6 separate regions of the Homo sapiens genome follow, and all the other regions are linked to region 5. The links are contacts of gene promoters, found by promoter capture Hi-C in blood cells and fetal thymus (Javierre and others, 2016). All regions are on one chromosome and are shown on one strand. The core of a region is centred on a gene start or on the middle of the fragment in contact, and the rest is flanking DNA. Distances in the headings are between cores, read along the strand shown. Region 1 overlaps PADI6 (peptidyl arginine deiminase 6). Region 2 has its middle 4.0 kb from the start of RCC2. Region 3 overlaps SDHB (succinate dehydrogenase complex iron sulfur subunit B). Region 4 overlaps RCC2 (regulator of chromosome condensation 2). Region 5 holds the start of PADI3 (peptidyl arginine deiminase 3). Region 6 overlaps PADI2 (peptidyl arginine deiminase 2).

Region 1 (4,018 bases), core at 1,519-4,018, 130 kb before region 5:
TACAGGTGTGAGCCAACACACCCAGCCTGTTTCTAGAACCCTGTATTCTGGCTTTCTATTCCTCTGTAAACTTTTCAGACTCTTTTGCTGTATCTTTTTGTGGTTCAAGCTTTAGCATGTTTCAGAGTCACCTGGAAGGCTTGTTAAAACATAACATGCTGTGTTGCCCTACCCTGATTTTTAAGTTTTTTTTTTTGAGACAGAGTCCCACTCTGTCACCTAGGCTGGAGTGCAGTGGTGCAACGTCGGCTCACTGCAGCCTCTGCCTCCCAGGTTCACTCCTGCCTTGGTCTCCTGAGTAGTTGGGATTATAGGTATATGCCACAAAGCCCAGCTAGCTTTTGTATTTTTTAGTAGAGATGTGGTTTTGCCATGTTGGCCGGGCTGGTCTCGAACTCCTGACCTCAGGTGATCCGCCTGCCTTGGCCTCCCGAAGTGTTGGGATTATAGGCATAAGCCCCGTGCTCAGCCCCTAGATTGTTGAATAAGTTTTTTTAAAAAAATTATTTTTTTGAGTCTCACTCAGGCTGGAGTACAGTGGCATGATCTCGGCTCACTGCAACCTCTGCCTTTCGGGTTCAAGCAATTCTCCTGCCTCAGCCTCCTGAGTAGCTGGCGGGCATGCCCGCCACCATGCCAATTTTTGTATTTTTAGTAGAGACAGGGTTTCGCCATGTTGGCCAGGCTGTTCTCGAACTCCTGACCTCAGGTGATCCATCTGCCTCAGCCTCCCAAAATGTTGGGATTAGAGGCATGAGCCACCACGCCCAGCCTGAATAAGCTTTTTCAATAAAGAAACCGGTAGTTCGCTATGATCCACATGATGAAGTATGGCATCCTTAGCAAGCTACATGAACCGGCGGACTCCAAGGCCTGCCTGGCCTAATCCACCTACTTCAGCACTGGTAGCCTCCCAGGGCCAGAGTAGCCCTTGTGGCCTGAACCAGACCTAGACCCCTGGGTTTCTTCGGCTCACTCTAGCTCATGTGTAAGATGGCCACGTCCAAGCTGGGCTACCTTTTCTGGCTAATCCCAGGCTACTTTGAAATCCAGCTGAGATCTATGGTCTGCAGAAGAGATGGAGTAGGAGACTGAGCCAAGGCCCCAGAGTGTAGACCAGGAAGTGGCAGGGGCACACTCTCCAATGCTGGCAACAAAGATGGTGCCCTCTGAGAAGAGGCACAGTATAGACCACAGAGCTCCCTGCGTTGCGTAGCTGAAGCTAAGCATGGTTTACAAGACAAGGTGGCAGGTTGGGCCGGGTGCAGTAGCTCACACCTGTAATCCCAGCACTTTGGGAAGCCAAGGCAGGAGGATTGTTTGCATCCGGGAGTTTGAAACCAGTCTGGGCAAAGTGAGACCCCGTCTCTACAAGAAAAGCAAATTAGCCAGTTGTGGCACACACCTGTCATACCAGCTCCTTGGGAGTGTGAGGTAGGAGGACTGCTTGAGTCCAGGAAGCTGAGTCTAGTCTACAGTGAGCTGTGATCACACTACTGCACTCCAGCCTGGGTGACAGAGCTAGACCTTGACTCAAAGGGGAAAAACAAAACAAAACCCAAAGAAAGCATGCTGGCATGTCCGTCCAGAAGCAGAGCTAGCTCTCAATGAGAGATTTAGAGGTACGCCAAGTCCTGAGCCAGTTCAGGGAAGTCAAAAGATGTGCAAGGCTGTTTTGCTGGAGTTGGGCATGTGTACCTCCTAACCAGCCCTCCATCTATAGAATAGAGTATGCTACCTGCCTCCCAGGAGAGGAGGGCTGAAGATGGGTGGTGGATGGCGTGGTGGCTGGGATGCAGGTGCTACCGTGGCTGCCGCTCTAGAGGTTTTGGCCTCAGATTTCTGGAAATTTAACATAGTGGATCATTGGTTTAGAGTGAAGATGGATTCTCCTGAGAGGAGTCACTGGGAGATGTGATCTACTCTGTGTAAGGCAATAGCTACTGTTTCAGTGGATATGTCTCTCTTCTCTTCTAGCCTGCAGGGAAGGCACAGCTACCCCCATTTTACAAGTGGAGAAAGTGGCTTAGAGGTGCAATAACTCACCCATGTGTACAGATTTAGCCTATGGGGAAGGTGGCAGCCAGAGAATCCTGGAAACACAAGTACAGCCACAACAGCCTCTCATCTGCAGCTCTAGGTCTCCAGCAGGCTTCTGCTGGGGACCTTGCTGGGAGGAGGTGTGGGCACAACTTGCCTGGCACGTCGAGAGCAGGCAAAGCTGGAGCTGGCACAAGAACACTCACTTTGGGGCCAGTAGACTCTCGCCTTCTTCGACTCTTCCTTGGAGGTATGGAGGACTAGCCGATATTTCTTTAAGATACAGCTGGGGCCTTGGACATTCAGAGTCATCTGGGACAGATTCGTTATTTCTGGGCAAAAGACAAAGCAAAGGTTAAGGAATGTCTGGAGGCCAGCACTCTGGGGGTGGAGGGAAGAGCAGTAGAGAGGGGCCGGGAGTTTGAACAGAGCACCAAGGACCCCCTGCCTTTTGCTAGGGCCCAGGCCCGAAGAATTACCATTTCACTGCTTGTTCTAGGTGGCTACAGGCAAGCTGCAAACCTCAGGGCCTCCTTTTGAGGGAGGATGGGATTTATCCCATGGTCCCCCACAAACAGAACAGGGCCTACCTCGATCAGTTCAGTGAAGGTTCACCTTGTTTCCAGTCTTGTTTCCAGTCTCAGTAGGAAACAAGACATTCCATTCTACTGCTAAGACCCAGAACCCTGGTCCCAACCGCAAGTCAGGATCCAAGGCGAATTTTACCCAAGACAGTCCAAGGTTCCTGGCCCAGACTATGAGAGGCTTTTTAGAAAGCAGCGCATATACCCCTATTGTCTTCATTTAGTCTTGTCAACCAACTGATATAGTTGGGAGGCCAACTGCATCATCCCCATTTTACAAATAGGGAAACAAGATCAGGGAAGTTAGTGTGCTCAAGTTCACAGCTAGGAAACAAGTAACCACCCATGCTCTTTGCATGGGGCTATGTGACTTCTCTTACCCAATTATACATCTACAACTCAGGACAAAAGGTTTGATCAGCCCAGGCATGGGGACTGGGGAAGAGGGTGTCGGGGGTGGGGTGGAGAAAATTAGTCTGGAATCCATTTGCTGAGAAGCAGGGCAGCAAAGAGACCAAGAAGGAAAGGCAGAGACAGTCTGAGGTCCTACCCTCTGAAAAGATCACTTTCTTGGTTTTCTTGTCCTCAAGTTGCTGGCCCACATCAGCAGGGTTGCAATTCACAAGCAGGATGGCACCCCAACCGCTGGGACCCCAGATCCATTTTTTCTGCAAATGAGATGGGAACATTGGCTCAGGAAGGAGCCAAATAAATCTTCTGTTTCTCGGATGCACCTCATAGCAGAGGGGCCCAGCCAAGCCTTTCTCCAGGGTACAGGGACCCATGGAACAGGACTGGTGAGGTCAAGAATCTGTAGGCACAGGAAGGTCATGTCAGGTAAGGAGGCTAAGAGGAAGGGAAAGAAGCTAGGTTCGGGGTTACCAGTTACTTACCTCATATTTCAGAGTCAGAGAATCAGGGACCGAGGCAAATTGGAAAAGAGACGTGCCACCTGGCAGCAGCGGCTAATCCTCTCATCTAGGAGACTCCACAACCAGGGTAGGACATGAGCCTAGAGTTGCCAGACATTCTGGTTTTTTTTTTAGTGAGCTAGAAATTTAATCAGTTCTGATCCCAGTACTTCGGGAGGCCGAGGCAGGTGGACCACTGGAGATCAGGATTTCGAGACCATCCTGGCTAACACAGTGAAACCTCGTCTCTACTAAAAATACAAAAAAAACTAGCCAGGCATGGTGGCAGGCACCTAGAGTCCCAGCTACTCGGCAGGCTGAGGCAGGAGAATGGCGTGAACCTGGGAGATGGAGCTTGCAGTGAGCTGAGATCGTGCCACTGCACTCCAGCCTGGGCAACAGAGCGAGACTCCGTCTCAAAAAAAAATTAGCCAGGTGTGGTGGCACACGCTTGTAACCCCAGCTGCTCAGGAGGCTGAGGCA
Region 2 (4,083 bases), core at 476-2,975, 190 kb before region 5:
TGGCGTGAACCCAGGGGACGTAGCCTGCAGTGAGCCAAGATCGCGCCACTGCACTCCAGCCTGGGCAACAGAGCAAGGCTCCGTCTCAAAAAATAAAAAAATAAATAATAAATAAATTAATAAATAAATAAAAACATGACATTTGGGTGGGGACACAAAGCCTAACCACATCAGCCAGCTTGGTGAGTCTTGGTATTCTGCATCCTGGACCTCCTCACCCTGGACTAGATGCATCTTTTTTTTTTTTTTTTTTTTTGAGACGGAGTCTTGCTCTGTCGCCCAGGCTGGAGTGCAGCGGCGCGATCTCTGCTCACTGCAAGCTCCACCTCCCGGGTTCATGCCATTCTCCTGCCTCAGCCTCCCGAGTAGCTGGGACTACAGGCACCCGCCACCATGCCTGGCTAATTTTTTGTATTTTTAGTAGAGACGGGGTTTCACCGTGTTAGCCAGGATGGTCTCGATCTCTTGACCTCGTGATCCACCCTCCTCGGCCTCCCAAAATGTTGGGATTACAGGCGTGAGCCACTGCGCCCAGCTAGATGCATCTTAAAGTATGAGAAACCACCTTTTGAATGGCTTCCACAGGGTATGGAAAAGTGGTATGATTTCAGTAGCACTTCTCATACTTTTTTTTTTTTTGAGATGGAGTTTCGCTCTTGTTGCCCAGGCTGGAGTGCAATGGCGCAATCTCCGCTCACCACGCCCGGCTAATTTTTAGTAGAGACGGGGTTTCTCCATGTTGGTCAGGCTGGTCTCGAACTCCTGACCTCAGGTGATCTGCCCGCCTCAGCCTCCCAAAGTGCTGGGATTATAGGTGTGAGCTACCATGCCTGGCTGCACCTCTCATACTTTAAGATGCATAAAAATCACCTGTTAAAAATGCACATTCTGGGCCGGGTGTGATGGCTCACGCCTGTAATTCCAGCACTTTGGGAGGTCGAGGTGGGTGGATCACCTGAGGTCAGGAGTTCGAGACCAGCCTGGCCAACATGGCAAAACCCCGTCTCTACTAAAAATACAAAAAATTAGCTGGGTGTGGTGGCAGGTGCCTGTAATCCCAGCTATTTGTGAGGATGAGGCAGGAGAATCGCTTGAACTGGGAGGTGGAGGTTGCAGTGAGCCCAAATTGCGCTACTGCACTCCAGCCTGGGCAACAAGAGGGAAACTCCAACTCAAAAAAAAAAAAAAAAAAAAAAAACACATTCTGATTCAGTAGGTCTGGGGGCTGAACCTGAGATTCAGTGTTTATTTTTATTTTTTTGAGACAGGGTCTCACTCTGTCACCTAAGCTGGAGTGCAATGGCATGATCATGGCTCACAGCAGCCTGGACTTCCCAGGCTCTGGCGATTTTCCCACCTCAGCCTCCAAAGTAGCTGGGACTACAGGTTTGCGTCACCACACCTGACTAATTTTTTTCTTTTCTTTTCTTTTATTTGAGAGAAGTCTCACTCTTATCCCCCAGGTTTGAGTGCAATGGCTCGATCTTGGCTCACTGCAACCTCCGCCTCCCGGGTTCAAACGATTCTCCTGCCTCTGCCTCCCAAGTAACTGGGATTAAGTTGCCTGCCACCACGCCCGGCTAATTTTTGTATATTTTAGCAGAGACGGGAGTTTCACCATGTTGGCCAGGCTGGTTTCGAACTCCTGACCTCAAGTGATCTGCCCGCCTCGGCCTCCCAAAGTGCTGGGATTACAGGCGTGAGCCACTGCGCCTGGCCGCGGCTGGCTAATTTTTTTCTAATTTTTGTAGAGATGGGGTCTCACCATGTTGTCCAGGCTGGTCTCCAACTCCTGGGCTCAAGCAATCGTCCTGCCTCAGCCTCCCAAAGTGCTGGGATTACAGGCGTGTACCACCACGCCTGGCCAGATTCTGTGTTTCTGACAATCCTCCTACTGATGCAGATGCCTGTACACTTCCTGGCTATCCTATCTGCCAGCTGTGTGGCCTCAGGAGGCCTCAGCATCTCCCTGGGCTTCAGTTCTTCCGCTGGATATTATTTAGATGAACAAACATATATTGACAGCTTACTACACGCCGGGCTGCTCTGGGTGCTTGCTAGAAAAACAAAGATGAAGAAGCCACAAGCCAAGCCCAGGCATGCCTCACAGACAGAGAACTTAAAGGTCCAACTACAATATTTAAAGACTCTGCGTTTGAAAATTTCATGACTCATTGGCAGAAATAGGACGACCGGATCTGCATCTCCCAGAAAACATCTCTCCAAACACTATGACAGGGATTCCCCGCTGACTACTGTCCTCAGAATCAGGGAATACGAAATCCAGAAGTAACCTCAAGAGAAATTTAGCCCAAACTCTATCTTGCCATTTTACAGAGAGGAGAAACTAGAGAACAGATGCAGAAAGAGTGGGGTCTGGAGGAAATTACTGGTTTTCCAGCTATGCTTTCGAAGGCTGTGATGTCCAACAGGAATAACATATGAGCTACAAAAAACTTAATATGTAATATTAAATTTTGTGGTAGTCACATTGAAAAGAGTAAAAAGAAGCCAGGCACAGTGACACATGCCTATAATCCTAGCACTGTGGGAGGCCAAGGCAAAAGGATTGCTTGAGGTCAGGAGTTTGAGACCAGCCTGGGGAACATAGTGAGACCTTGTCTCCACAAAAAAATTTTAAAAATTAGCTGGGCGTGGAGGTGCACGTCTACAGTCTCAGCTACTAGGGTGGCTGAGGCAGGAGAACTGTTTGACCCCAGGAGGTCGAGGCTGTAGTGAGCCAAGATGGCGCCACTACAGTCCAGCCTAGGTGACAGAGTGAGACCCAGTTTCCAAAAAAAAAAAAAGAGAAAGAATCGTTTCCATTGGTTAGCGCATCACTCCCAGGATCACTGGTTTCATTTTTATAGACACTGGATCAGAAAATTAATCTTTCAAGTACAGGTGTAGCTTTCTGTAGCCAAGTTGAATAGAATTACACTTCTGAGGCTGGGCACAGTGGCTCACGCCTGTAATCCTAGCACTTTGGGAGGCGAAGGCGGGCAAATCACGAGGTCAGAAGTTCAAGACCAGCCTGGCCAACATGGTGAAACCCCGTCTCTACTAAAAATACAAAATTAGCTAGGCGTGGTGGTATGCGCCTGTAATCCCAGCTACTTGGGAGGCTGAGGCAGGAGACTGCTTGAACCTGGGAGGTGGAGGTTGCCACCACTGCACTCCAGCCCGGGTGACAGTGCGAGACCCCACCTCAAAAGAAAAAAAAAAATGAATTATACTTCTGAGGCTGTGCACAGTGGCTCACCCCTATAATCCCGCAACTTTGGGAGGCTGAGGTGGGAGGACCACTCGAGACCAGCCTGGGCAACAGAGAGAGACCTTGTCTCTACAAAACATTAAAAAAGAAAAAAAATTTAGCCAAGTGTAGCTGTCCATGCCTGTGGTCTCAGCTACTTGGGAGGCTGAAGCGAGAGGATCGCTTGAGCAAGGAAGGTAGAGGCTGCAGTAAGCTGGGATCATACCATCACCCTTCAGCCTGGGTGCTGGAGGAGCAAGATTCTATCTAAAAAAATAAAAAAAAAAAAAAAAAAAAGAAAGAAAAAATCACACCTCACCCCTGGAAAAGAACTTAAGCGTAGCTGAATCTAACTTGCAATATGATTTTGCTGAAGATGAGGTTAAAGAGTGACGGCAGGCTGGCACTTGCAGCCACATTTCCAAAATTCTGGGTGTAAAATGCTCAGCACAGTGCCAGACACCTGTGCCTCAAAGTGTCAGAGAAATCTCAGCCACCTTCTTTCCCTTCCCCTCTCCCGGTTTTGCACCAAACCATCCTGTCCCTGGAGAATTTGCTCAATTAGAAGCGAGGTGAAATTCCAAGCACAGTTTGAAGGAGGAAGTGTCATTTTCAGCTTGCCTGTAGGTGCACCTCACTATGTAACATTTGTTACATAAGTGGCAGCATGACACGCCTAACTGATGAATGTCTGTTGCACACCCAATTCCAGCCGGGAGAGTCACGCAGGCTTTCCCTGGGAGAATAGTGGTGTGGAATTGAGGCATGGAGTTGCAAAAATTACTTTTGTCTTCTGACAAGTAGGGCCAGTTCCAGGGTGTTATACCCAA
Region 3 (3,678 bases), core at 197-2,696, 210 kb after region 5:
GGCTCACCGCAACCTCCGCCTCCCGGATTCAAGCAATTCTCCTGTCTCAGCTTCCCAAGTAGCTGGGATTACAGGCGCCTGCCACTACGCCCAGCTAATTCTTTTGTATTTTTGGTGGAGATGGGGTTTCTGCGTGTTGGTCAGGCTGGTCTCGAACTCCTGACCTCAGGTGATCTGCCCACCTCGGCCTCCCAAAGTGCTGGGATTGCAGGTGTGAGCCACTGTGCCTGGCCTGAAGCAGGAGAATTGCTTGAGCCTGGGAGTTGGAGACCAGCCTGGGCAACAAAATGAGACCCCCATCTCTACAAAAAAGCAAACAAAAAATTAGCCAGGCTGGGTGCGATGGCTCACGCCTGTAATCCCAACATTCTGAGAGGCCAAAGCAGGCAGATGACTTGAGTCCAGGAGTTCAAGACCACCCTGGACAACATGGCAAAACCCTGTCTCTACTAAAAATACAAAAATTAGCCAGGCATGGTAGCACACACCTGTAATCCCAGCTTCTTGGAAGGCTAAGGCACAAGAATTGCTTGAACCTAGGTGGCAGAGGTTGCAGTGAGCCAAGATCACGCCACTGCACTCCAGCCTGGGCAACAGAGCAAGACTGTGTCTCAAAAAATTTGCCAGGTGTGGTGGCACACTCCTGTAGTCCGAGCTACTTGGGAGGGTGGGGTGGGAGGATCACTTGAACCCAGGAGGTCGAGGCTGCAGTGAGCCATGATTCCATGCCCTACACTCCAGCCTGGGCAACAGAGGGAGACGCTGTCTCAAAAAAAAAAAAGAAAAGAAAATATAAGACATTGCCCCCTAGGAACTATTAGAACTAATGAACAAATTCAGCAAGGTTGGAGGACACAAAACTGGTATACAGAAATCAAATGTAGTTTAGTTTTTTATTATGCATAATTTGTCCATGTTTATTTCAACCTATGTCTGTCAGTCTTCATTTTATATTGTACCATGTTTTAATTATAGTTCTATTTCCTTCTAATCCGACTCTGAAACCCTACTTTGTAGCTATGTATACACACACAAAAAATAGCTATATTCTTTCATTTTCACAACAGCATAATTCTTTTTCTGAAAATACTGGCGTGTAGCAGATATTAGCAGATAAATGTATTTTTCTAGGCTAGGCATGGTGGCTCACACTTGTAATACTAGCACTTTCTTTGTGAGGCCAAGGCAGGAGGATTGCTTGAGGCCAGGAGTTTTGAGACCAGCCTGGGCAACAATAGCAAGACTTAGTCTCTACAGAAAAAATGTGTGTGTGTGTGTGTATACATATATATTTATATATGTATTTATATTTATATATTCATATTTATATAAATATTTATATTTATATATTCATATTTATATAAATATTTATATTTATATATTCATATTTATATAAATATTTATATTTATATATGTAAAACCCTGCTTACCTAGAAAAAAGCCTGTAAGTACTGTTAAAAAAACAAAAATTGGATTTCTATACACTAGCAATGAACAATCCTAAAATGAAATTTAAAAACTATTTTCCATATAACAGCATCAAAAAAGAAATTCTTAGGAACAAATTATATGGGCAATAAGACAAAACCCCATCTCTACAAAAAAAGTTAGCTGGGCTTGATGACCTTCCTGTGCCTATAGTCCCAGCTACTTGGAGGCTGAGGTGGGAGAATCACTTGAGCCTGGGAGGTCAAACCTGCAGTGAGCTGTGATCACAACACTGCACTCCATCCAGCCTGGGCGACAGAGTGAGATCCTGTCTCAAAAATCAAATAAGTAAAAGACTTATATGCTGAAAAACTGTAAAACATTGTTGAAAGAAATTTAAGAAGACATAAATAAATGGAAAGACATGCCCTGTTTGTGGGTTGGAAGACTTAATGTTGTTAAGGAGGCAGTGGTCTCCAAATTGATTTCCAGATTCATTGCAATCCCCATCAAAATCCCACCTGCCTTTTCTGCAGAAGTTGACAAGTTGATTCTAAAAATCTTATAGAAATGCAAGGGACCCAGAATATCAAACAATTTTGGTATCTATGTAAAATCTGAGAAAATTTATGTTGTACTCTTTAATGAGCCCTACCTATTAGGAAATTTAGCATGAAACAGCTTAAAGAGAGGACTTTGACTTTTTAATATTTTTCTCTGTCCCAGTATGATCTGCAGGATTACTTTTTACCTTTGATTTGAATTTATTTATTTATTTATCTATTTATTTATTTATTTTTTTGAGACAGTCTCGCTCTGTCTCCCAGGCTGGAGTGCAGTGGTGCGGTCTCGGCTCACTGCAACCTCCGCCTCTGGGGTTCAAGCAATTTTCCTGCCTCAGCCTCCCAAGTAATTGGGACTACAGGCACGTGCAACCACACCCAGCTAATTTTTTGTATTTTTAGTAGAGACGGTTTCACCACGTTAGCCAGGATGGTCTCAATCTCCTGACCTCATGATCCACCCGCCAAGGCCTCCCAAAGTGCCTCCCAAAGTGCTGGGATTACAGGCGTGAGCCACCCACCTGGCCAATTTGAAATTTTTATAGGCTGCAAATATTAGCCTTTGTAATGTAAAAAAAACAAAGATGTTGTTGTCATTTAAAATATGCTAGGACAAGAACAGGCAGATCATTAGAATAAAAATGTAGCAACAAAACAGACTCAATTTTATCTAAGTTCCCAGTATTAAATATGGGAGAAAGGTATTACAAATAAGAAGCAAAAGAGGATTTAGTCAGTGATTTGGGACAACTGATACAGTTTTTGCAGTTTTAGGGGAGTAACTTAAAATTTTTTTTAAGTAGAAAAAAATGTAAAGTATTTATCAGACCTCAGGAAGGGCAGTGGTCTGTTTAGGCTTAAAAGTGATAGATAATGTTATAAAAGAAAGAATAGCCACCTTTATTAATGTAAACATTTAACTCATGTATGTTTAAAATTCTGTTACCAAAATTAGAAGTCAAATAGCACATTACTATTGGCAGTGAGGGAGGAAGCAGAAATGGCAACAGATATAATATATAAGAGCCTCAGATCATGAAAAAGAATTTCCAAGACCCTGGTAAACAGAGGCAAAGAATGTGGACAGACTGAGTCTCTAGAATGAGTCCTCTGGAACAGAGCTTTGTGCGGGCAGGTGGTATTCGTCTCTTTTATTCTCTGCTACATCCCCAGCATCTAGAACAGAACCTGGCAGAGTAAATGTTCAATAAATAATTGGGAAATAAAGAAAAATTAGTAAATTTATGACAAACATTCAACCTATGTAGTATTCAAAAGTCTCGATTTAAAACACTGAAAACAATAACACTTCTCCAGTATCAGAATAGCAAAGGTTTTTAAAGCTTCCAATTCCCAGTGTTAGCAGAGGTCCAGCAGAAAGGACGTCTACATAGTGCTGATACAAATACAGATAATGGGCCAGACGCAGTCGCTCACACCTGTAATCCCAGCATTTGGGAAGGCTGAGGCAGGTGGATCACTTGAGGTCAGGAGTTTGAGACCAGCCTGGCCAACATGGGAAAACCTATCTCTACTAAAAATACAAAAATTTGCCGGGTGTGGTGGCATGCACCTGTAATCCCAGCTACTCGGGAGGCTGAGGCAGGAGAATCGCTTGAACCCGGAAGGTAGAGGTTGCAGTGAGCCGAGATCGCACCATTGCCTCACACCCATAATCCCAACACTT
Region 4 (4,150 bases), core at 853-3,352, 170 kb before region 5:
TAGGCAGGCTGTCCTTCCAGCAGACAGTTTCCTTCCTCTTTGAGGCACGATATGACATGAGACCTCTGTTGCTGCCACTTGAAATGCCACTGGCTTTTCTACCTCCCGCCTCATGTCATAGGATGCTGCGTCCCTGCCGCCATGGCCCTCGTGTCTGAGGTCTGCCCAAGTCTGGTCTGCAGGCTTGGCAGCTCACTGTCCGTGTTGTCTGCTTCTTAGGATATTTCCCCAGATACTTCAGTTTGCTTTTTTGGAGTTGTTCGGCTTTCCCTTCTGTTTTTCCTCACCTGGGCACTCGGGATGGGTTCCAGTTCTTCTGTTAGCCTCTGTCCACGGCACTGTCCTCTGCAGCCGGCCGGCCCATTCCTGCCCGTGTCCTCTTCCAGATCATTCCAATCATAGGGTATGGGCTAAGGCTCATTTTATCCCCAGCCCTTTTGGTGACTCCCGGCCTCTGCCTCCAGCGGGGCATATTGGCGTTTGTCCCCACCCTTTGTCGCTGGTCCTCTGGCTAGCTTTTAGTCCATATGACTGCATTTTTATTTTGGGCTGTTTGAACCGTTTTTTGTGATTTCATGAGCTGCTGTACCAAAGTCCAAATATATTAACATCTGTTGTCTTCCCTGCACATGGCTAATTTTGTAATTCTGTTGAAAAAAGCTAAAGTGTGTCTGGCCCAAATTTATACTTTATAGTCTCTTGATGACATGCTGACATTGCCACAGTTTTTGTTTTCTCCCGGTTGGCATAGATGTGTGTCCCTTCCCCCAGAGCACCCCTCCTACTTTGTGTTCCAACACTGAACACAGCCTTTTATGTCAGTGTTCCAAACTTAAAATACCTCAGTTCTGATCTCTCGCTGAGCTTCACTTGCGTGGTGGCTCTGAAAGCGCCCTCAGTTCTGACCCTGTGGGCAGGGACAATGTATGTCCCGCCATCAAGACGTGTGATCCCCGAGCAGACAGTGCAGTTGGTGAGGACAGGGTTGGAAGGTGTCACAGGCCCACTGCTCGCCACTCTAGAAGGCAGGGGGCGGCGTCTGGTGTGAGTAGAGTACCACGGGAGGGTGGCTGACGCATTGCTCATGTGGGGTCTCCATCTGTGGCCCGCTCACCCTGTCCTGCCGCATCTCAGTCCACTGAGACTTGCACTTGTTGCTCTGTATTCACATGCCTTTCACATGAACTTGGGCAGCTCCCATTGGAAGCTGGTGTATCTGCCTCTCCTGCTCGAGTGCCAGTGCTGGCCCTTCAGCCCGCCGTTCTTTAATTAGAGCGAGTCAGAGGCTGGTTTCCCTTCGTCGCAATTCCTTCTGTAGTCAGAGGCTGCTCCTGCAAGCCTTCTCCAGGACAGCTGGAACTCATCTTAATGGCTCTGCTGTCTGCCTTTATCACAACCTAAGGGTGAAAAGTTCATTGCTGGAGAAGGTTGCAAAACCCCCTAGAATTGCCCTGACTTCTCACCACTGTAAGATCTCCGTCAGTTTCCCCACGTCAGGTTACATGTGTGGTTTTTCTCTTATCGGGAGGGATCCGAGAGTGGCCGGTTGAATTTTTGTTTTGGAACTTGGTAGTTTGTGTTGAAACCTAGATGCGGTGTAGGGGCTCCCAGCCCTCCTTTTGGCCCACCCAACTTCCACGTCTGTTTGGAGTTGAATTTGGTTCTGCAGAGGACTTGGGGGTAGGGGTTGGCCCTCAGGCCTGCCTTCCGCTGGAATTCACAGATACAGGGCCTTGGTCGCACCTGCAGCAGTCCTGGAGGTGGGGCTGGGCGTGTTGTGTTGAGGGTGGATCTGTGCTTTGTCACCAGGGTTCCTGTGGCTGAGAGTCCTTGAGGGGCGATCCCTAGGGGTGGGATTGGCACTGTTATGTGAGCACCATTTACAGGGTAGAAAAAGGAAGAGAAATATTGGGCAGACACCAAATGGTCCTCAGTGGATGCCCAGAGCACCAAAGTGATTAAACTCTGGTGAGCCAGGTGTCAAAATGGGGTGCTGTCTTAAAATACATCTCAGAGGGTAGGGACGGGGTGGTTGTCTTGCAGGCACTCTAAGTGGGAACGGCGTGTTTCTGCGAGCATGCCCGCCTGTGCATGGTGTCCCTACCACACTGAGCCTCTCATTTCCCTTTGTAGCAGAGACGTGGGAGGTGTGCACGGGTGGTCCCGCTGCTGCCCCAGGGAAGGAGGTCCGGGGAGCTGCAGCAGGCGCCATTCCAGCGGGCAGAGGGCCGGGGCGTTCTTTGCTCTGGATCTTGGCTGTTGGGAATTTGGAGGGTACCTTCCAGAGACAGATGGGCATCATTTGAGAGTGTGTTTGTACTCGCCTTCTCCTGGTGGTGCCGCCTGGACCACCCTCTCTCTTTTCTACTTTCTCTCATGTGATCTGCAGGTCGAAATGAGAAGGGGCAGCTGGGACATGGTGACACCAAGAGAGTAGAAGCCCCTAGACTCATCGAGGGTCTTAGCCACGAAGTGATTGTGTCTGCAGCATGTGGGCGGAACCACACCTTGGCCTTGACGGGTAAGGAGGTGGCTGCTGGTGTCTCCTCTCAGTTTGGCAAGAGGCCAGGTGGTCTGCCTTGGGGATGGGGCGTGGGGTGGTGGAGTTCCCCTTGTGACTCTTGGTCAGGATCAGAAAGAGGCCCTGAGAACCTTGGCATGGAGTGGCTTCTTGAGGGCATTGGGAGCCTCCCCAGTGGCCATAGGAGGCCCATCTGGGAGTAGGAGACGCTGCCCTCTGTTTCTCTGCACACCCAGTTTCTGATGTGAAATGGCTTTGCTGTGAAGCGTCTGCACTGCCAGCTTTTGGGCAGTCTCACTTGCCTTCTGCCTGGCAAATGAGCTGTTTTTATTATTTTGATGCCTTTGATTCTAAATCTAGTTCAAAACATTCACCATTATCTTCCCTTTTGTGATATTTTTCCTTTCTTCCAGAAACGGGCTCCGTGTTTGCGTTTGGGGAAAACAAGATGGGGCAGCTGGGCCTTGGCAACCAGACAGACGCTGTTCCCAGCCCCGCGCAGGTGACCCCTCCTCAGCTCCGGCTCCATGGCTTTTTGTTTCTCTTTACTTTTGTGTTTGATTTTCTAAGGTGGGGTCTCCGTTTGAGTTAATTTACCCCTTGTAAAAACAGGGTCTGGATGTTTAGTTACATGCTGTAGAGTTTTTTTGTTTGTTTTTTTGTTTTTTGTTTTTTTTTGAGAACGGAGTTTCACTCTTTTTGCCCAGGCTGGAGTGCAATGGCGCAATCTCGGCTCACTGCAACCTCCGCCTCCCGGGTTCAAGTGATTCCCCGGCCTCAGCCTCTGGAGTAGCTGGGATTACAGGCATGTGCCACCACACCTGGCTAATTTTGTATTTTTAGTAGAGACGGGGTTTCTCCATGTTGGTCAGGCTGGTCTGGAACTCCTGACCTCAGGTGATCCACCCACCTCGGCCTCCCAAAGTACTGGGATTACAGGTGTGAGCCACTGCACACAGCCTTGCTATAGTTTTTAAAACAGGCTTAGTTTGTGGTCGGGTTGAAAACCATCCTGAAAACATTTTGTTTCCAAATGGAGAAATCTGTTAGAAATGCCTTGTCGTAAGCCTGTTCTGTTCCAAAGAAAGTGAGTGATGTTATATGGATGTAATTGTACTTCCCCCAAATACTTTGTTTTGACCTTGTATAAAGTCACCAGCCAGATGCTTAGAATACAAATACGAGATAGGCAGTCTTTTTTTTTTGGAGGGGAGACAGAGTCTCGCTCTGTTGCCAGGCTAGAGTGCAGTGGCGCGATCTCAGCTCACTGCAACCTCTGCCTCCCGGATTCAAGCGATTCTCCTGCCTCAGCCTCCCGAGTAGCTGGGACTACAGGCATGCTCCACCACGCCTGGCTAATTTTTGTATTTTTAGTAGAGATGGGGTTTCACCATGTTGGCCAGGATGGTCTCCATCTCTTGACTTCCTGATCTGCCTGCCTCGGCCTCCCAAAGTGCTGGGTGTGAGCCACCGCGCCCAGGAGATAGGCAGTCTTTTTTTTTCTAAGAAACTTGAGTTGGAGGGGTGAGATTTATACCTTAAAAACAAACTACTACTAAAGGCAGAAGAATGCTAAGTGCCTAATTAGTGGTCTAGGTGATGAAGGAAGGGAGGGACTTGGTTTTATTG
Region 5 (4,232 bases), core at 700-3,199:
CCCTGGGGGGTTTGGCCACCAGGGCCCAAGAATCCCTCATTTGAAGGTATCAGAGCTTCCATCCCCCACCCTGTGGCTGTCCCACCGATGGCCTTCTCTGCAAACCTCCAGTGTGGCTCAGGTGACTCCAGGAAGCTATGGCCTTTATCTCTTATTGCCCCAATCCATCCTCTATCCTCTAAGGAAGCTCTGCGGGGGAGGAGCCAGGCCCAGGCTTCCTGGGACAGGTCAAACCGGAGACACATCTGCCCAACGGGCACGAGGCAGCAGGGGCAGGTGAGTCACCCCATGGCACGCAGCCCAGTCACCCCATGGCAGGCAGGCAGTGGTGCCAAGTGGCAGATACCCCTCCTTCCTCATTACCTCCTTGGCACAGCCTCCGTGGCTGCCCCTTCCTTCAAGAACCACTGAATCCCCTTCCTCCTCCTACTGCCCACCCACCAATACCAGGATTTATTTCCTGGGCTGGCTCTGCTCCCGACTTGGTTCCCTCCCATGACCAGCTCCTCACCCCCTCTCATCCAATGCCCTGGATCAACCCCATCGCTGCTCCCGACTAAGTTCGCCCTGATTTTTCGAGTCTTAGTCTTGGAGACTCGTTCTCAATGGGTGGGCTATTTTCTTCCCACCCCAGGGCACATTTGGCAATGTCTGGGGACATTTTTGGTTGTCACAACTCGGGAGTGTGCTGCTGGTATCTAGCAAAGAGAGGCCCAGAATGCTGCTCTCCATCCTACAGTGCACAGGGTGGCCCCCATGACAAAGAGGTATCGTGACAGCAGTGCTGAGGTTGAGAAACCTGGCCTGAGGAGAGGGCTGGGAGACTTGAGAGGTGAGAGCTGTCCCACAGTTCTGCACCCTCCCCTCCCAGTATCCTGATTACCTCCAAGCCAGGACCCTGGATTCTCCCCAAAAGCCTAAGAAGCCAGCTCCCTGGTGGTCCCCAGAGCCCAGCTCTTAAAACCCTACCCTAACCCTCTTTTCTTCCTAAGAGAGAGAAGATAAGGCCTTACCTCCCTCTACCATGGGCCTCAAAGGCATGACCTGGCACACAGTAGGAGCATAATGCATGGGCATTGAGTGTCTAGAGGAAACCAGGTTGGAAATCTTTATTTTCCAAGTATCAGAGCAGCTAAAACCATAAGACTCCTGAGTAAGACCACAAGCGGGTTTAAACCCTGGCTTTGCCACTTAGTAACTGTGTGACTTGAGCAAATGGCTTGCCCTCTCTGCCTCGGTTTTCTCATTTGTCTGATGAGATGATGCTAATAATAAGCCTAGCTCACAGGGTTGTTGTAAGGGTTAAATTCAAGATTAAAGTTCAAAACTTAACTCAAGAGACTTGTGAAGCTCTTAGAATAGTGCCTGGCACATGGTAAGTGCTATGTATTAACTTATTTTTTAAAAATGATTCATGCTCTGTTTCTAGGCTCATAGGCTCAGGATGGGGCTGGGGATATCTGCCTGTTCCTATTCTTGTGTGCCCCAGACAGATCCTCAGCCCAACCTGCAGCATCCCTTGGACATAGAAAAGTGCCATCTCTTCGCGGCACCAGCCCCCTCCAAGCCCCCGGTCTGGAGCTCAGTCACTGAAGCCTCTTCTACCTGGCTCAGCCTCCCAAACTTCAAATTCCCTGGCTAAGGTCTTCAGGAAACTCAGTAGAGCAAGAGGAGGACCCAAGCTTCCCTGATTGGCTGCTGTTCCGAGGCCAAGGCTGGGGAGTGGGCCCTGAAGAAGCCCTGCCCAGCCTGCAGGGAGGAAGGTCCAAGGGCATCAGCACCAAGGGCCTGCAAACCACTAGGCCTCTGACTCTTACCCATAAATGTCCACGAGGGTCTCCACGCCAGCCACACACACCGCGCTGGTGGGATGCTCCAGGGACACACGCACGATTCTCTGCAGCGACATGCTGGTGTTGGACTTAGCTGTGGCCGCCAACCCCAACACTGCCCCTGAGGCCCCTTAGGATGAGGTTTAAAAGCCCCTGGCCCCACCCCTCCAGCCCAGGGTGCCAATTCATTGGCTCCAGTCATGAAAGCCCAGCCCCTTCCCAGAGCTGAGAGCTCAGGATTGGCTGGAAGGGACCCAGTATTTGTATACGAACCTGTTGTCCCGACCCCGGCACCCAGGAAGTTAATTTCTTGGGAAGCAAGTCCCCACAGGTACCTGGCTAGGCACCAGGAACTGTTGGGGGCAGGTGCTGTTGAGGGGGTGCAGAGATATATGATATTGATCTCGGACGCTTCTTGCTTCCTCACCTCCATTTTCTGCATTTTCAGAGACTATAATGGGGAGCTTTCTTACTCTGCTGGGGAAGCTGGTGAAAATGCGGATTCCCAGGTCTGTTGTCCACTCTGATCCAGCAGGTTAGGGGTGCAGCCTGGCCTCTGGATTTTTTTTTTTTTTTTTGAGACGGAGTTTCACTCTTGTTGCCCAGGCTGGAATGCAATGGTGCGATCTCGGCTCACCGCAACCTTCGCCTCCCAGGTTCAAGCAATTCTCCTGCCTCAGCCTCCCGAGTAGCTGGGATTATAGGCGTGTGCCACCACTTCCGGCTAATTTTGTATTTTTAGTAGAGACGGGGTTTTTCCATGTTGGTCAGGCTGGTCTTGAACTCCAGACCTCAGGTGATCCACCTACCTCGGCCTCCCAAAGTGCTGGGATTACAGGCATGAGCCACAGCACCCGGCCCTCTGGATTTTTTAATAAGCACCCCCAAAGCATTTTGGTGCCCTTTGAGAAACACCAACTTTTTTTTTTTAATGGATTTTAGAGCCAGACCTGGGTTTCAGCCCTGCCTCAGCTGCTTCCTGGATGGGCGACCTTGGGCAAGTTTCTTTTTTTTTTTTTTTTTGAGACAGAGTTTCGCTCTGTCACCCAGGCTAGAGTGCAGTGGCGTGATCTCGGCTCACTGCAAGCTCCACTTCCCGGGTTCACGCCATTCTCCTGCCTCAGCCTCCCGAGTAGCTGGGACTACAGGCGCCTGCCACGGCTCCCGGCTAATTTTTTGTATTTTTAATAGAGGCGGGGTTTCACCGTGTTAGTCAGGATGGTCTCGATCTCCTGACCTCTTGATCCACCCGACTTGGCCTCCCAAAGTACTGGGATTACAGGCGTGAGCCACCATGCCCGGCCGGGCAACTTTCTTAATTGTTCGTGCCTCACTTTTCTCGTCTGAAAAATGGTTGCTGTGAGGCCTCAGGGGCCAGCGTTGGTAGAGCTCTGGTATGGAGCTTGGCGTTATTGTATTACTATTGTTGCTGTTATTAGGTCCCAAAAACCTCTGAAAGCGGTAAATGATGAGGGTGAGAACTCTCTCCAGCCAGGGGGAGCTTGGCATGTCAGAGTAGGAAAGCTCAGTCGTCAGGTGGGAAACCGAAGTCAGAGGGGCATTCAGGCTCCTGGAAGAGCAGGAGCAAGGGCTCTGGGGAGAGAAGTCTTGGGTTCAGAGGCAGGCTCCACCGTGCACCCACTATAGGGCCTTGGGTGTCAGTGTCCCCCCTCTTGGAGACTCGGTTTCCTCATCTGTAGAAAATGCAGCTAATCACTGGCCCTGGCGGAGATAATAGTGAAGACGCACCCTGCCTGGCGGAGGCTCAGGAGGTGCTGAATAGAGGTTTCCTCCCTTCTCCCTGGCAGTGCTGACAGCCTGAGACAGGATGGGGACCAGGACCCGCTCCCCAGCATCTCCAGCTGGGACATCTGCACCAGTTCAAGGGCCTCAACAGGACCCTGAGATTGTCATTCCCATGTCTCAGTTTTTGGGAAAGATGTTCTTTTCAAGGAGAACTGCTGGGCTTCTGGGTCAAGGGACAGCTTCACTTTTTTCAGCTGTGGAATGGCTTGATGGCTGAGTCAGCCTTGGGAGCCCTGGGTAAGAGTTCGAGCTCAGGAGGAAGCCTTAGTCTCCCTAGCCTTCTTGTGAGCACAGATGGGGAATAGATGCAGAAAGTAGGGGCTTTCCCTGGGGTGCTGGCCCACTACCTGCCTCTTTCTCGGAGAACTGTATATGTCTTTGGAAGGAGACTCATGCCTTCACTTCTCCTCTGTTAATACCAACTTTTAGAAACAGGTTTGTGGTTAATTCAGACTAAAGTGTCAATGACTAATAGGCAGCAACTTTTTGCCCTCTTACTCCACAACAAAAGCTAAAATAAAGTGAGTGAGTATCAAACGGTGTAATTTGAGGCAGCAGCAAATGTGTAGGATGAGAGGGTGATGATTTCAGGCA
Region 6 (3,910 bases), core at 386-2,885, 180 kb after region 5:
AAAGAGGGAAAGATGATCAGGTGGAGACAACCAGCCAGGTTAGAGACACCATGCCAATTCCTCATACTTCTTTTTTTTCTTTTTCAACTTCTATTTTAGATTTAGGGGGTACATGTGCAGGTTTGTTACCTGGGTGTATTGTGTGATTTGGGGTATGAATGATCCCATCACGCAGGTACTGAGCATAGTAGACAACAGTTAGTCATTCAACTCTTTCCCTCCTCTCTCCCTCCCCACTCTAATAGTCCCCAGTGTTTGCCATTGCCATCCTTATGTCCAACATGTTTTTTATTGTGATAAAATATACCTAATCTAACACATTTGTTATTTTAACCACTTGTAAGGACACAGTTCCGGGACATTAAATACATCTACAATGCTGACTAACCATCAGCACTCTCTATATCCGTTATACTTTTTTTTTTTTTTTTTGAGACACAGTCTCACTCTGTCGTCCAGGCTGGAGTGCAGTGGTGCCATCTCGGCTCACTGCAAGCTCCGCCTCCCAGGTTCAAGCCATTCTCCTGCCTCAGCCTCCCCAGTAGCTGGGATTACAGGCGCCCGCCACCACGCCCGGCTAATTTTTTGTATTTTTAGTAGAGGTGGGGTTTCACCATGTTAGCCGGGATGGTCTCAATCTCCTGACCTCATGAACCACCCGCCTCGGCCTCCCAAAGTGCTGGGATTACAGGCGTGAGCCACCATGCTCGGCCTATTTTTTTCTTAAATTACTTTTGTCACTTTTCAGGTTGGTATCCATAATATATCTCATGCCTGAAAGCCTGAGTTCCCGCAGCTGGTTGATACTTACATGACTGCCCCTCAGATCCAAAGACAGTGTTCCTGACTGTCACTGGTGTCTAGGACAGACAAGACCAATTTAACACCACCACCCTTTTTAAATTCCCCACTGATGGGAAGTTTGTTCTTGGATTGGCAAGCTTGAGTCCTGACTTCCTGGAGGCTTCCTCTCTAATATTAAACATACCCTCAAAAACTACCCATAGGATATAGGGACCATTATTTTTGTACAAATAGGGGCAAGCAGTGCCCCAGATTTCTCTTTGTATTTTAGAAAGAGAGATAGAGAGAAAATAGATAGAATACAGTTTGGGGACAGGAAGAAAACTGGACTTTGATGGACAGAAGGCATGGTCAGGCATCGTCATTGTCAGTTCAGGAGTGAAACATTATCTCCTGGACTTAGACATTCATGTAATTGGGACAGACAGAGAGAGGATGCGCGGATGTGCAGTCAGCAGAGAGTAGAAGCACATAGGAGACCTGGGGAGGAAGGTGAACCAGGCAATGCCAAAGAGCCAAGATCTCCGCTGGACCAGAGCCCACAATGTTTGGGGAAAACACATCCCTTTAAAAGATGATAAAAACTACAGACTTGCCCTCCAGAAAAATGCTTATATCAATCTATCTCCTGAACTTGGATCAGTTTTAGAAAATCACAGATCCCTAAAGTTTTCTGTTTCTACCTGGACCCTCCCTTCTGAGTCCCTAAGCCTCAAAGATTACATCCGGCTTGTAGCTGGGCATCTTTACTGCTGTCCAGTTATAAACCTGGGAAGTGCAATGGACCAGCAGTCTCTTCCCAGATGAGGCCAAAATAAATAAACAAATAATAGGTTAAGAGCATAGGCTCTGGAATCAGACTGCCTGATCTGCACACCAACTCTGCCGCTTGCTAGATGTAAGTCCTGAGACAAGTCACATAACTTCTCTGTGCCTCAGTTTCCTCATTTTTCAGGGTAGTGACTACCCCATAGAAATGTGGGGAGGATCCATGAGTTAATTCAATGTAAAGCGTTTAGAAGAGCGTCGGCCACATAGTAGGTGCTCATTGAGCATTAGGCATTACTAATCAAGCTGGAAGCCACATAAGCCATCGTGTGGTACAGGAGGAAAACGCAGGCCACTCCAGAGCAGCAGCCAAGATGAGGCAGCTCTGGAAAACAGGAAGGGTGTCCCCTTTGGCCATGCTGCTTCTGCCACATTCATGCTGGTCAGCTGCTCATCCTTAGGAGTAGGCTGTAGGTGGGAGAACCAGGGGGCTACTTGTAGCACCCCTGATCCCACTGGCCAAAGCAAGAGCAAGGCAGCTGCCACCACTGTCCTGGCTCAGATGTCATGGTCAACTCTGGAGAAAAGAGTGTGTGCTGCCCTCCCCAGACAGAGGGGGGCCTGATTTTGCCTGGGAGTGCCCTCCTGTGATCCAGCCTCTCCCCAGTCCCATCTCCCCAGTCCCAGTCCAGCAGTTAGCCCAGGCCTGGAGGATCTTGGCAAAAGGGGAACACTCAGCCTGGGTATCTAAAGCTTGACCATCCCCTGTCCTTTGAACCCCACAGGCTTGGGTGGGATGAGCAGCAAGCGAATCACCATCAACAAGATTCTGTCCAACGAGAGCCTTGTGCAGGAGAACCTGTACTTCCAGGTGAGGGCAGGGCAGGGGTGCAGGGCCAGAGGGCCCCTGGGAGGGATGAGGCTCAGGCCCTTACATCCTTGGGGCTTCCGTAGAGAATGGCCAAGGGCTCAGGAGCTCCTGACCCCGAGCACAGCAGCACAGGGAAGAGCCTCCACCAGCATCCAGCCAGCCTCCTTGCTTTGCTCCTGGGCTAAAGTCCCAGGGTTAAAGAAGTGCCAAATTGTGCCGCCCCCTCACTTGGGGAGGTAGGACCATGGGCAACTCACTAAGGCTGTCTTTGGGTCTCTCATCTCTAAAAAGGGGATAATGGGGGCCAGACACAGTGTCTCATGCCTGTAATCTCAGAACTTTGGGAAGCCAAGGCGGGAGGATTGCTTCAGGCCAGGGGCTTGAGACCAGCCTGGGCAACATAGTGAGACACTTGTCTCTACAAAAAAAATAAATAAAAACTTTGGCCGGGCCTGGTGGCTCATGCCTGTAATCCCAACTCTTTGGGAGACTGAGGTGGGCAGATCACCTGAGGTCAGGAGTTCAAGGCCAACATGCCCAACATGTTGAAACCCCATCTCTACCAAAAATACAAAAATTAGCCTGGCGTGGTGGCAGGCGCCTATAATCCCAGCTACTTGGGAGGCTGAGGCAGAAGAATCACTTGAACCCAGGAAGTGGAGGTTGCAGTGAACCGAGATCGTGCCACTGCACTCCGGCGTGGGCAACAGAGTGAGACTCAGTCTTAAAAAAAAAATTAAAAGGGAATAATAATAGCATCTATATTACAGGGCTGGAGCTTAAATAGGCAATCTATGTAATGCGCTTAGAACAGTACTAAGCACATGTACGCATTAGCTTTTGTTATTACCAAAATCATCAGTGTTATCCTCAGCTCATGGGGTGGCCCGAGGGGTCACTGAGGTGCTGTGTGGGAAGCACTTAGCACAGGGACCGGCTCTAGTGAGTGCTCAGGAAATGGCAGCTGCTGTTCTGGCATCTGTGACCTTCCTCTGTCCTATTACGACTGCTGTTCATGAACCCCGGTGGACAGGGCCAGGGAGAGGCTGCAGAGGCGCCCGCTGACTGCTAGAAGTCTCTCTGGAGTGCCGGGGCCCCTGGCCTGGTGCTGCAGACAGGGATGGGGTTGACAAGGTGGCCGGTGTGTGTCCCCCTCACCTGCATGCCCTCCATCCTTTCTCCTACCCAGCGCTGCCTAGACTGGAACCGTGACATCCTCAAGAAGGAGCTGGGACTGACAGAGCAGGACATCATTGACCTGCCCGCTCTGTTCAAGATGGACGAGGACCACCGTGCCAGAGCCTTCTTCCCAAACATGGTGAGGCCCTGCAGACCCCAACCCTCGCCCCATGCCAGTACAGGGCAGCCAGATCCAGAAGGACCCCTCAGCTGAAGCTGTCCAATGGGGAGGCCCAGGTCCCAATCCTGGCTGAGCTGCTGTGTGACCTCACCTCAGGCACTTGCCCT

Evidence for each region. Contacts are between HindIII fragments. The CHiCAGO score rates a contact against its expected background, and 5 or more counts as called.
Region 1: a fragment that was not itself captured here is called in contact with the fragment with the promoter of PADI3 in region 5 in 6 of 17 cell types (neutrophils, M0 macrophages, megakaryocytes and 3 more); the score reaches 9.0 in neutrophils.
Region 2: a contact is called between a fragment that was not itself captured here and the fragment with the promoter of PADI3 in region 5, in 1 of 17 cell types (neutrophils). The highest score is 5.1, in neutrophils.
Region 3: a fragment that was not itself captured here is called in contact with the fragment with the promoter of PADI3 in region 5 in 2 of 17 cell types (neutrophils and monocytes); the score reaches 14.9 in neutrophils.
Region 4: a contact is called between a fragment that was not itself captured here and the fragment with the promoter of PADI3 in region 5, in 3 of 17 cell types (M0 macrophages, neutrophils and M2 macrophages). The highest score is 7.1, in M0 macrophages.
Region 6: a contact is called between a fragment that was not itself captured here and the fragment with the promoter of PADI3 in region 5, in 11 of 17 cell types (monocytes, neutrophils, megakaryocytes and 8 more). The highest score is 19.3, in monocytes.

Annotation. Positions count from the first base shown.
Region 1 is chr1:17,380,321-17,384,338 of GRCh38, reverse strand. PADI6 (peptidyl arginine deiminase 6) reads right to left here. Exons shown (of 16, transcript NM_207421.4): 5 at 3,175-3,292; 6 at 2,247-2,372. Among named protein-coding and RNA genes, the nearest start is that of PADI6, 10 kb to the right of the region's middle. RefSeq lists an enhancer at 1,874-3,073. The HindIII fragment of the contact is 3,969 bases long and covers 784-4,018 here.
Region 2 is chr1:17,441,651-17,445,733 of GRCh38, reverse strand. No RefSeq gene overlaps it. Among named protein-coding and RNA genes, the nearest start is that of RCC2, 4.0 kb to the right of the region's middle. The HindIII fragment of the contact is 6,214 bases long and covers 1-4,083 here.
Region 3 is chr1:17,034,410-17,038,087 of GRCh38, reverse strand. The region is part of intron 2 of SDHB (succinate dehydrogenase complex iron sulfur subunit B); the gene reads left to right. Among named protein-coding and RNA genes, the nearest start is that of SDHB, 18 kb to the left of the region's middle. The HindIII fragment of the contact is 3,780 bases long and covers 1-3,336 here.
Region 4 is chr1:17,421,076-17,425,225 of GRCh38, reverse strand. It overlaps RCC2 (regulator of chromosome condensation 2), which reads left to right. Exons shown (of 13, transcript NM_018715.4): 5 at 2,390-2,521; 6 at 2,935-3,023. Among named protein-coding and RNA genes, the nearest start is that of RCC2, 17 kb to the left of the region's middle. RefSeq lists an enhancer at 2,421-3,175. The HindIII fragment of the contact is 4,272 bases long and covers 1-4,150 here.
Region 5 is chr1:17,246,815-17,251,046 of GRCh38, reverse strand. It overlaps PADI3 (peptidyl arginine deiminase 3), which reads right to left and starts at 1,949. Exons shown (of 16, transcript NM_016233.2): 1 at 1,818-1,949. The coding sequence starts at 1,909. The HindIII fragment of the contact is 2,587 bases long and covers 1,685-4,232 here.
Region 6 is chr1:17,069,939-17,073,848 of GRCh38, reverse strand. It overlaps PADI2 (peptidyl arginine deiminase 2), which reads left to right. Exons shown (of 16, transcript NM_007365.3): 14 at 2,358-2,443; 15 at 3,633-3,761. Among named protein-coding and RNA genes, the nearest start is that of SDHB, 18 kb to the right of the region's middle. The HindIII fragment of the contact is 1,384 bases long and covers 944-2,327 here.